Regions from separate parts of the Homo sapiens genome. Here all the other regions are linked to region 3. Evidence: promoter capture Hi-C in human tissues and cell types (Jung and others, 2019). All regions are on one chromosome and are shown on one strand. Each heading gives the region's core, a stretch centred on a gene start or on the middle of the fragment in contact. The rest is flanking DNA. Distances are from core to core; before and after follow the strand shown.

Region 1 (3,905 bases), core at 154-2,653, 950 kb after region 3:
CGACAGAAGCGAGAGGGATGCAGCTTCGCCGGGTGGCCTCCCCCTCGGCGTCCCACCAGCACGTCCACCCTGGATCCTCCCGCTCCTACTCCTACCCCAAGTCCCCGCCCCCAACTTCGAAGCTCCTGTGTGCCTGCAAACGCCGGCCCCGCCCCGCTCCCACCTCCAGGCCCTGCCGCTGCCAGGGACCCGCCCCTGCCAGGGACCCGCCCCCGCCCCGTCCCACCCCGGTCCACCCTGCAGCCGTCGGACCCCTGGCAGGGCCCCAGCAAACCCGGAGGCCGCCACTGGGGGGAAGGACGGGGCGCCCGGCGAGGCCTCATCCACATGCAGGGGACGGCGCGTCGCGGCGGCCGCCAGGAAGAAACAAAGGCTGTTCCGCCGCCGGCCGCACAGTGCCAGGCTCGCCCCGCCCGCCGCCCCGGTGGCCCCGACGCGGCCCCCCTGGATCTTTTCCGCCGGCCTCGGCTGCACAGTCCGGACGGCTTCCGGGAGGAGGCAGCCTCCCTCGGATCCCCGCACTCCCGACCCTCTCCCGCGACCACAGCCTCCTTCTCCGTGTCTCCCGGGCATTCCAGGTCGCCTGGCCTTCTTGAGCCGGGCTGGATCGCGCGGGACCTGCACCAGAGACCCGAGTTCTAGTCCGCTGAGCCCTCACTCTGACCTGGGACGAGGAGCCTGTAGTGAAGATCTCAGGCCAGAGGTGGCCCAGAGCCTGGTAGGGTGGGCGAGCCGTGTCCAGGACTCGTCACAGGTCTTGGGTCCCCGTGATGAGGATGAGAGCCCCCGGGATCTTCACCTCGACCCTCAGGCCTTTGATCCAGGGTGCATAGGACACCCAGACCCCTCAGAGGAGTTCCAGACCTCAACCCCCACCCCTCCTGAGGTTGTCCGCCTGGGAGCCTCAGGAGGCACGAGAAAGGGTTTGGTCTCAGCCCTGCACTTGCTCGGCGATCGCTACTGATCTCTGGGCTTCAACTTCCACCTGTAGAATGGACTCACCCTGGGAGCTGTCTCCTACACACACACACACACACACACACACACACACACACACACACACATCGTGCAGGCATAGAGTACTAAAGGGAGCACACACTGCATCCCCACACGCGGCCAGCTGTTATTCTTGCCGTCCCCCTCGGCCTCCCTGAGAGCAGGGATTGTCTTGTCTCGGAGCTCTGCTCCCCAACCCGGCCCCAAGAATGGATGTAACTCAGGCAACTGGAGGGTCCCTTCCTTCGCCCAACTGGGAAGTCCTTCCTAGATCTGCCCCAAGTCCTCTCCTTCCTTCCCAGGCCGGGACTGGGGGAGGGGGCGTTCCCTTTAAGGGAGGTGGGGGAGGGGGCTGTGGGCCGGCCCTCCTTCCGCCCCTCCCGGGCCCCCGCCGCCCGGGGCCCCCAGTCCCGGGCCCGGAGCCAGCGCATGCGCCCGCCTGTGGGCGCTGTCCCGGCTGCGAGGGCCGTGAGCTCACGGACCGACGGACCGACGGGCGGCCGGCCGGACAGACGGGGCAGCGCAGGGAGCGGGGACGCGGCGGGACAGCGACATGGCCGGCCACACGCAGCAGCCGAGCGGGCGCGGGAACCCCAGGCCTGCGCCCTCGCCCTCCCCAGTCCCAGGGACCGTCCCCGGCGCCTCGGAGCGGGTGGCGCTCAAGAAGGAGATCGGGCTGCTGAGCGCCTGCACCATCATCATCGGTGAGCGGGACCCAGGCGGGCGGGCGCCGGGCGGAGGCCGAATGAGGGGCGCAGCCGCTCCGAACGAGGGGCGTCCCCTCTCCGGGCGCTCGGACGGGTCTGCCTGGGGAACCTGCAGTCTGGCCTCAGAGAGCGCTATGACCGCGGGGAGGTCAGGGGCTGCTGGCCCAGGGTGCCAAAGCTCCGTGTTCCCACCTCCCGGCCGCCTGCACCTGGGGGAGTTTTGGGTCCCCTCCACCGCTGGACTCTTCCTCCTGACTCGATTTTGCTGCGGGGCTTTTGCAAGGCAGTTACCCTCAGTTTCCTCATCTGTGAAATGGCCATGACTGCAGTCCTGCGATTAGCGCAGGAACTTGACCAGTGTAGGGGCTGGTCAGGCTGCGGCAGGCTGAGCTCCCCAAGTTCTGTACTGTGGGTCAGTCTGAGTACCTACTGTGTGCAGGGTCCAGGTGCCACGCAGTGCAGTGACTTTATTCTTGGAAAGCAGGAGGGCCTATGAGCAGAGTGAGCAAGCGCAGCCTGCGCAGAAGGGACGGAGGTTCAGAGCAGGCAATGACTGCAGGGTTTGGCAGCAGGACCCAGGAGAGGGGGCGGGTTAGCCAGCAATTGGGGGCAGCAGTGGGCAGACCCAGCCTGCAGAAGGCCAGCTGCTCCCTGAGCTGGGATCCTGGTGGGCACTGGACACTCGCCTGGTCTGGAGGCCCTGGACTCCAAAGTCCCCACCTGAGAATGGGTCCATGTCCTGCCCCCACATAGGGGTTTCTGGGCAGGCAGAGAGCTCAGAGGTCATGGGAATGGCAGTGGTATTTTTCCACTCTCTGTCCCAAGTCATGGATACTGACTTGTTTCTTTGTCTACACAGAGTGCCTCTGAGCCCCTCCAGGGAGGGACAGGAGAAGTGGTTTGGGGGGTGAGTGACTGGGGCCTCGACTGTTCTCACCTTACCGCCAGCCAGTCTTCCCGGTCCCCTGCCAGTGAGAGCCACTTGTGTCTTCACTGCCTTCCCACCCTCAGACCCCTGGAGATGGAGAAAGTTTGGGGGCTCAGTAGGGCAGACCCAGGGTCTTCACCTCGTCCTCTCCCACCCCCACATTAGCAGCTCTTCACATCCAGAGTTGCCCCTGAACACAGCCCCTGGCCAGGTCACTCCGCCATCTCACCCCCTCCCCTTAGAATGCTGTCTCCCAGAGCCTGGTCCTGACCTGGCCCTGGGAGCTTCTTGGCCTAGGATGCCCCTGCCTGATGGACGGTCTGCTGGAAGGAAGGGCTGGTTCCAGGGATTTGGCCAGGGTGCTGGTTAGAGCTTTTTCTTGGCCCACACCCTCTCCAGGAACTGTCCTCCAGGGAAGGGGAAGCTCACACCATGAGTGGGTCATAGGATTGAGACCATGCCTAGAACCAGCTACAGTGCCAGGCAGGTGCAGAAAGACACAGCTCTGCCTGGGCTCCTCAGCTAAGCCCAGCATCCTTGACCTGTCTTCCTACTCTATCCCCTCCCCACATCCCATCCTCCCCAGGCCACAGGGAGGCTGCCTGGCTCCTTTCTCCCCAGAAAGGGGCCCTGGTGGTGGTGGTGGTGGTGGTGGTGGTGGTGGTGGTGGTGGTGGTGATGGTAGAGGTGGTGGTGGTGGGAGTGGAGAAGGCCAACTCCACTATCACCCTCCTTTTCCAGGACAGACTCTGTAAGTTTCCCATGCAGCCCAGGTCTGCCCTGACAGCTCCCCTACCCTTCAGTTCCTTCCTGCTGTGCCAGGTCCACTACCTTGGCCTCCAAACCTTGAACACTGAGCCAGGGTGAAGGGCCACTTAGCTAACCAAGGATGCTGGATTCAGCTACAGAACCCAAGCCCGGGGCACTCAGTGGTGGTCTTGGGGAGCCTTGATCTTGGCCTGGCCCGGGGAGCCTTTGAGGATTACAGCAGGCAGGAGGCTGGACGAGGCAGGAAAAAACAAGGAGATCAACCTCAACCAGAAGGTGATAGGAGGTGGGGACTGGGCAGGTGAGGACTGAGCTGGGGTCTGCACTGCCTTCCCCACCTGATGTACTAAGGGTCTCCCCTCCCCAGCCCACCCCACCTTTCTGCCCCAGGTGGGCTCACTCTCTCTCCACCAATACCCTGGGGAGCCTGGTCAGAATCAAAAATGTCTGCAAAGTGTCATATTTTAGCTCTAAAAGTCAAGAACTTGACGTCCTGCTTCCTTTCC
Region 2 (3,848 bases), core at 885-3,384, 510 kb before region 3:
GCCAAAGACCTGTAGTCTTCTGGTCTCAGTGGGTAAACCCTCCCCTTTCCTCCATGTGGAAGCCTGATGCCTCCTTCACTCGGCCCATTTTCCAACTCTGTAGGGCATCCTTCTTCCTTCTCAGAGACCTGCTGAATTCTCATCTCATCTCCTATCTGGTCTCTTTGTTTCTCCTTAGGTTATTTTGGGCAAGAAACATTCCCTCAAAATGGCTCAGATACTAAAGGATTTGTTGGAAGGAAACGGGGGTGTTTTGTAAATGCTCTCCCCCAAAAATGTGAAACAGTAAACAGATAAGAGTGGCAAGTGATTAGATGTGACATCTGAGACCAGAATAATGAAGCAACCATGAGAAGACGATGATGATGAAATCAATAGCTATAGCTAATACTTACTGAATGCTATTGAGAGGCCAGGCATTGTTGTAAACATTGTGCATCAATTAACTCATTTAACTTTCATAATAATGCTGTGAAATAGGTTTATTACCATTTTACAGATGGAGAAACTGCAGCATGACCCAGTGAAACAGTTTGTCCAAGGTCACAAAGCCAGTATACATGTAACTTGGATTTAAACCCAGGTAACAAGACTCCAAAGCTTAATGCTCTTCACACACACACATCTCGAAGCTCTTAAGGAGTATGGAGTGTTTCTTAAGTCCACAGAAGATGCTCAAGAAATGGTTAATAGGTAAGATTGAGGAAACAATATGTTGTCAGTGACACCATAACATTATTATTATATTCTGGACAAACAGTGTTAGTGTCCCCTAAGAACGTGTGAAAAATGCAAATTCAAATCAACTCATACAGAAACTCTAGGACTGAGGCTTAGCAATCTGTGCTTTAACACGTCCTTCCAGTGATTTCGACACAGCACTAGAGCTCAGAACTACTAGATTCCTTTATCCCATCCCTGTGTAATACACATGAGTAATGCTCAGTAAATGTTCTTGAAATGTATTTAATTAAGCCTACTGGATATGGACTCAATAATCCTCACCAAAATACTGCTATTCTTAGTATAAAGAGCAGGCCATTCTTCTCGAAGTTTGCTAGTCTCCCGCTAAAGGCTATACTAAGGCTAATCTTAGTGAAATTTTTTTTTGTCGCAAACAGTCACAGAGAAAGAGTTCATGATATACAAAATGATTTTATTAGATGCCAAATTTTTATTAACACCATTTTATTTCTTTTGCAGCTTTAATTTTTAACATTATAACATTTACTGGCTCCTCTGGGTGACTAAATATCTTCACATGCCCACTAGCTAAAAAGAATTTCTAAGTAGAACTCAACTGAAACTGCAAGCTACTGCTCTAAGAAATGCATACTTATGTTTATTTGCTCTCCTATATAATCCTGTTTACAAATAGCATAACTGCAAAGATTTATATGTAATTTCTAAATCCTTCAGGTTGCTCTACCATTCATCTTCTTATGTCTGGCAAGATAAACACTCTTAGTGAACACTTTGCTGCATCTCTTAAATGAGATTTGTCTCCAGTTTATTTCCTATAGAATAAGGGATGCACTTGGAACTGAAAAATTCCTTCAATTTCTAAAGTTTCCACATTCATACAACTTTTCTCCTGTAGGAGTTTGCAGGAGATTCCTATTGCCTATAGTCTTTCCCACATTTGCTACATGTACACAGATTTTTCCTAGTGTGAGTATACTTAGGTCAATTAAGGGATTAATACTGACAAAGGCTTTCCCACATTTATTGACTTCATATGATTTCTCTACAGTATAAACTCTAATAAAAAAATCTGCATCATTGCTAAAAGTCTCCCATGTTCACCACCTTCATACAACTTTTCCCCAGTATACATTTTTCTGATGTTAAATAAGGGAGGATCTATGAATGAAGTTTACCGTGATAAACACTGCTTCTCTTCTGTAAGATTTCTCACATGTATAGGGATTCATATGATCTAAAGGCTTTTCCACACTTACCACACTATTGGGTTTCTCTCCATTATGTACTCTTTGATGGGCAGTAAGATTCGAGCCTTTGCTAAAAGCTTTCCCACACTCACTACATTTATATGGCTTTTCTCCAGTATGAATTCTCTGATGTACAGTAAGGTTTGAACTACAGCTGAAGGTCTTCCCACATTTAATACATTCGTAAGGTTTCTCTCCAGTATGAATACTGTGATGTTGAAGCAGGGACGACCTATGACTAAAGGCTTTCCCACATATACTGCATTCGTAGGGTTTCAATCTAATGTGATTTCTCAAATGCATATTCAGTGATTCAAGCTGGTTGAAGGATTTCCTGCATTTCTAAACTTCAAACGGTTTTTCTTCAGTATGAATACTCTGATGTTGAACAAGAAATGAGAAGCTACTAAAGACCTTGAGACATTTGTTGCATTCATATTTTTTCTTCATACTGTGAATTCTTTGATGTTGAGTAAGGTGTGAGCTACAGCAGAAAGCTTTCCCACATTCTCTACATTCATAAGGCTTCTCTCCAGTATGGCTTTTCTGATGGTGAATGAGAGACGAACTATGAATGAAGGCCTTTCCACATATACGACACTCATAGCGTTTTTCTTGCGTATGAATTCTTAGATGCTGAATGAGAAGGGACACACGACTAAAAGACTTTCCACAGTTCATACATTCATACGGTTTCTCTCCCGTGTGAGTGCTCTGATGGTTAGTAAGTGATGAGCCATGGCTAAAGGCCTTCCCACATTCAATGCATTTGTAAGGTTTCTCTCCACTATGGCTTATCTGATGTCGTGTAAGGGATGAACCATGGCTAAAAGTCTTCCCACATTCACGACATTCATAGGGCTTCTCTCCTGTATGAATTCTCCAGTGGCGACTGAGGATTGACTGTTTGCCAAAGGCTTTCCCACATTCACTGCATGTATAGATTTTCTCTCTATTACAAGTCTGGGGAAGGGTAAGAGATTTGCTCTGGTTGAAGGCTGCCCCACTTTTATTAGAATTTAAAAGTTTCTTTCCACCATTTATTCTCTCACTTTTTATAACTGACTTTTTTGATAAATTCTTCTTTAATATATCATATTTGTGTGAATTCCCTTCAGCAGAATTGTTTTGTGGTTCAGAAAGAGTAGACTTTGAATGAAAGGTGCTTCTAAATGTGTCGCATTCTGTATATTCCAAATTCTTATTAGAATTTGAAAATTCATAACTTTGTTTTACAACTTTTTCCATTGTTACTGGTTGGGGTGAATCTTCATCATAAATATCCTTCTTTGTTGATAATTCCTTGTTTTCCCATCTTGATTCCCAATCTGAAATATATCAAGAAAGCAAAGCACTGCCTTTTTTTTTTTTTTTTTTTTTTTTTTTTTTTTTTTTTTTTTTTTTTTTTACTTCTTGAAAAAAGCTTCTACAGTGGAATTAGGAGAATTGGATAAGAAATGAAGCACCCAGAAAACACATAGTTCTGACAACTCAAATATTTCAGTGACTTCTGAACAATGCTCAAATAGAGCAGAGAATCCAAAGTTCACAGAAGCAGGAACAGAGTGTGATAAAGGAAATGGGTAAGCTGTACGAAATGGATAAAATAGTATGGAAAAAAGGAAAGTATCAGAAATAAGATGTGGAAGGCATTCAGGATTACAAATCATCATTTTGTGCCTATATTCATGTGGGAAAGGTTGCATTTTGTTTCATAGCCTTTTTTTCCAACCTTCCATTAATCTCAATTTGCTGCTGGATTATCAAGCTTAAAATACAGAATTGATACTACTATATTAAACAACTGCAGTAAAAACAAAGTAAATGCTCTTTATAGCTGACAAAGATATAGGCTTTCTGAGGTTATGAAGAAACTGTGTGAATCATATTTTTCTT
Region 3 (3,682 bases), core at 431-2,930:
TGAGGTCAGGAGTTCGAGACCAGCCTGGCCAACATGGTGAAACCCCGTCTCTACTAAAAATACCAAATTAGCTAGGGGTGGTGGCAGGCGCCTATAATCCCAGCTACTTGGGAGGCTGAGGCAGGAGAATCACTTGAACCCGGGAGGCGGACGTTGCAGTGAGCCGAAATCATTGCCTTTGCACTCCAGCCTGAGCAAAAAGAGCTAAACTCCATCTTAGAAAAATAAATAAATAAATAAATAAATAAAGGATTTACCAGAGCATCCAAGAAATATTATTAAATACTTGATCCCGTGAAACCACTCCCCTATCTGTTAACGATTTTTAAAATTTTACAGATTTCGAAAATCTTCTTCTTTATCCTTGGACCTAACCTATCCACAGGGTCCCTAACCATGCTATGCAGTTCCCACCTCTACCAGAAGTGCTGGGAAAATCACCTAGGTTATCTAGCTTCCCTCAAAGTATTTTACACTGTTGTGAGATTTCCTTTAAGATTCAGGAGCTAAAGTTTATTTTCTTTCTGGTTTCCTGGCGGAGCAAAGGCCCTGCACGTGTGAACGGAAACAAAACCCACACAGACTCTAGGGATGCCAAATATTAACACTGTGGGTAGGGGCACCTTCCTTCTCGGCCGAATTCCCTTTCCCAGAGAGCCTCCAGAGGGATCAGTCAACGCCCACTGAGCCTGGATCAAAGGTCAAGCTTGCCTGGTCAAGAAGGATCCTGGATCAAGCTTGAACCCGTTTCCAGAAACAGGGGCGTCGGGGCAGCAGCAAGCATTTTTACCACGCGCCCTAATGAGGTGGTTGCACAACAGGCTTTGAGGATTCCGGTTTAACAGGTAAATACCAACAGAGGATGAGCCGAGGGAGATGGGATCTGCTCCACGGCATCGATGGCATTTCGAGAATGTCTGCGTCGCAGAGCAAACCCAAAGTTTTAGCACATTACTCAAGAGTTCACCAGAGGAAGATCGCCACGAATTGAAATGAACAAAGTGAGAAAATGGGTGCTGTGTAGTCAACGCATCCGCGATGAACTCAAGCTGGGCGGAAAAATTCTTTGAATACTCCGGCTTTGTTTTGTGCTAAGACGGCAGAAGCCCCGAATTTCGGAGTTGGAAGACGCGTTTCTCCGTGTTCTCCGGCCCGTTCTCGGACTTCAGGGCCGCCCGCCGCGCACTCAGTCCCGTAGTTCCCCGGGCTTCAGGCGCGGACATTCCGGGGGGCGGAAACCAGGGAGCCGCGGGGAGGCCGCGGTCCGGCCCGCGACGCCGGGGCCCGGAGAAGGGAGGCGAGAGGCCTCCCGGAGCTCGACGGAGGGAGGGGAGGGAACGAGGAGGCCGCGGGCCGGAGCGGGGAGCAGCCCCGAGCGGCGCCCGGCTCGGCCCCCACCCTGAGGCCCGGTCCCGCGTACCTTTGGCAAGGGCTACGGTGGAGTTTTCGGTGTCGATGGTGTAGAGGATGCCCTCGTAGCGGATCTCCGCCTTGGAGATGAGGCTGATCTTGCTGCCGATGTAAGGGGTGCCCCCGCTCATGGCGCCGCCGCCGCCGCTCCCAGCTGCTCGCAGAGAGGCAGATCCCACGCCACTGTCGCCCGCTCCGCACGCCCGCTCGCTCCGTCGGCGCCTACAGCAGCCGCTTCAGACCCAACATGGCGGCGGCGCCGGCTCCGCTACCCTCCCCCAGCCTCCCGCCCTCAAGCCGCGGCGCGGCGGCGGCGGCGGCGGCGGCAGCGGCGGCGGCGCGGGGCATGCTGGGAGGGCGAGGCCGCGCTCTCGCGAGACTTGGCCGGCTACTGGTGGCTCCCGGCTCATTCGTGGCCTCGGGAGTCCCGGCAGCGCTTGTTGGCCTGGACTACGGTGGTGGTCTTGGGGCCGCGTGAGAGGAACTTCGGGGACCGGCTGAGTGCCTCGTGGCACCCGCTTGCTGCGGGCTGGAGAGGAGGCGCGCGGCCTTCCTTTTGACTCAGGCCGTGGCCGCCTTGTCGTGGGTCCTGTGTCTTTGCCGACGCGGGGCCCTCGGCCTGGAGCGCTGCCCACCCGCCTCCGAGCTGTGGCGAGCCGCTGCTCATCCTTCTAAGACGCTGAACCTGCACCTCGTGGAGCTCCTACGGCTCCATTACCGCAGTCATCGCCCGGGGAGCTTCCCCCGAGGCTGCCCCTGGAGCTGGGGCTCTCACAAGGACTCAAGTGTTTCAGCCCCTTCCTGTCCCGCTCATTCAGCCGGTCTGAACCAGTTTCATGGCTTGCAACGCCATTGTAACTCACTAATCCCAATTATCAGTATGTAGCTTGGATCAATTCCGTGAACCAGGGTTTCTGTCGAATCTCAAACGTTAAGGGTCCAAAGCCATGCTCCCTGTTTCCCCTCTAACCTGCTCCTTCACCACCGTTCCCTATTTGATGTAAACGGTACCATTTTTACTCAGCTGCTCAGACTAAAAGCCGTGAGTCAGCCTTGCCCTGTCTTGCTTCCACATCTGTTCTGACTACACCTCTCCGTTATGTATACACAATATATCCTAAATCTGACTTCTCATCTCCATTCCTACACTTCTCCCACAAGCCACGATTACTCGGGCTGAATTATTGCAGTAGCCTTCTAAAAGTTGCCTCTGTGTCAACTCTTGCCCCCAGTACTTTATTCTCAATACAGCAGCCAGAGAGATCTTCTTAAAATCTAACTCAGGGCTGGGCGCAGTGGCTCACGCCTGTACTCCCAGTACTTTGGGGGCCCGAGGCGGGCGCATCACCGGTCAGGAGTTCGAGACCAGCCTGGCCAACATGGTGAAACCCCGTCTCTACTAAAAATATAAAAAAATTAGCCAGGCGTGGTGGCGCGCGCCTATAGTCTCAGCTACTTGGGAGGCTGAGGCAGGAGAATTGCTTGAACCCAGGAGGCGGAGGTTGTGGTGAGCCGAGATTGTGCCACTGCACTCCAGCCTGGGCGACAGAGCGAGACTCCGTCTCAAAAAAAAAAAAAAAAATCTAACTCAGATCATGTCCTTCCTCTACTCACTCTACTGATCCCATGTTACACAGAGAGAAAACCAGACTTTGGTGTCTAAGGATATACATGATTTAGCTTCTCGTTCTGTTCCAGTCGCGTCTAATTCAACCAGTACTTGAGCACTTTATTCCAGTCTCTGCTCAAGCATCACCTCCAGAGATGACGTCCCTGACAGCCTTGTTTAAAATAATACCACTCATCTCCTTAACTCAGCTTGTATTTTCTTTATAGCATGTATCTCTCTCAAGTATGTCTGTTTAATTATTTGTATGTATCTGTCTCCTTCACTAGAATGTAAACATTTTGAGATAGTGATGTTGTTTTGGTTGCTGCCGTATCATCAGGGGCCTAGTAACAGCACGTGGCTCAGGGCAGCTGCTCAGTTAATATTTGCTGCATGAATGAACAGCAGGATGAAGGCAGAGCACAGGCAGGACGGTGAGCTGAGTGAGCAAATGGCGAGAAGCCTGGCATCATAAGAGAGGGACACAGGAGAGAGACAGAGCTCTGATGGGGCTGGTGCACAGTGGCTACAAAGAAAGGTTTGGAAATCCCTGTTTCAGTACAAGGTCCATGCGAGGAAGTTGAATTATTTGTTTTTGTTTTTTTGAGACAGTCTCACTCTGTCACTCGGGATGGAGTGCAATGGTGCCATCTCGGCTCACTG

What was found. Contacts are between HindIII fragments. The study calls those that stand out against the background at their distance.
Region 1: the fragment with the promoter of SLC7A10 here is called in contact with the fragment with the promoter of LSM14A in region 3 in 1 of the 25 tissues and cell types used here (mesenchymal stem cells).
Region 2: a contact is called between a fragment that was not itself captured here and the fragment with the promoter of LSM14A in region 3, in 1 of the 25 tissues and cell types used here (hippocampus).

The regions. Positions count from the first base shown.
Region 1 is chr19:33,223,348-33,227,252 of GRCh38, reverse strand. SLC7A10 (solute carrier family 7 member 10) reads left to right here and starts at 1,403. Exons shown (of 11, transcript NM_019849.3): 1 at 1,403-1,700. The coding sequence starts at 1,550. The HindIII fragment of the contact is 48,714 bases long and covers 1-3,905 here.
Region 2 is chr19:34,683,684-34,687,531 of GRCh38, reverse strand. ZNF302 (zinc finger protein 302) reads right to left here. Exons shown (of 5, transcript NM_001289187.2): 5 at 1,136-3,280. The coding sequence ends at 2,295. Among named protein-coding and RNA genes, the nearest start is that of ZNF302, 7.9 kb to the right of the region's middle. The HindIII fragment of the contact is 3,944 bases long and covers 163-3,848 here.
Region 3 is chr19:34,170,502-34,174,183 of GRCh38, reverse strand. LSM14A (LSM14A mRNA processing body assembly factor) reads right to left here and starts at 1,680. Exons shown (of 10, transcript NM_015578.4): 1 at 1,421-1,680. The coding sequence starts at 1,541. The HindIII fragment of the contact is 14,704 bases long and covers 1-3,682 here.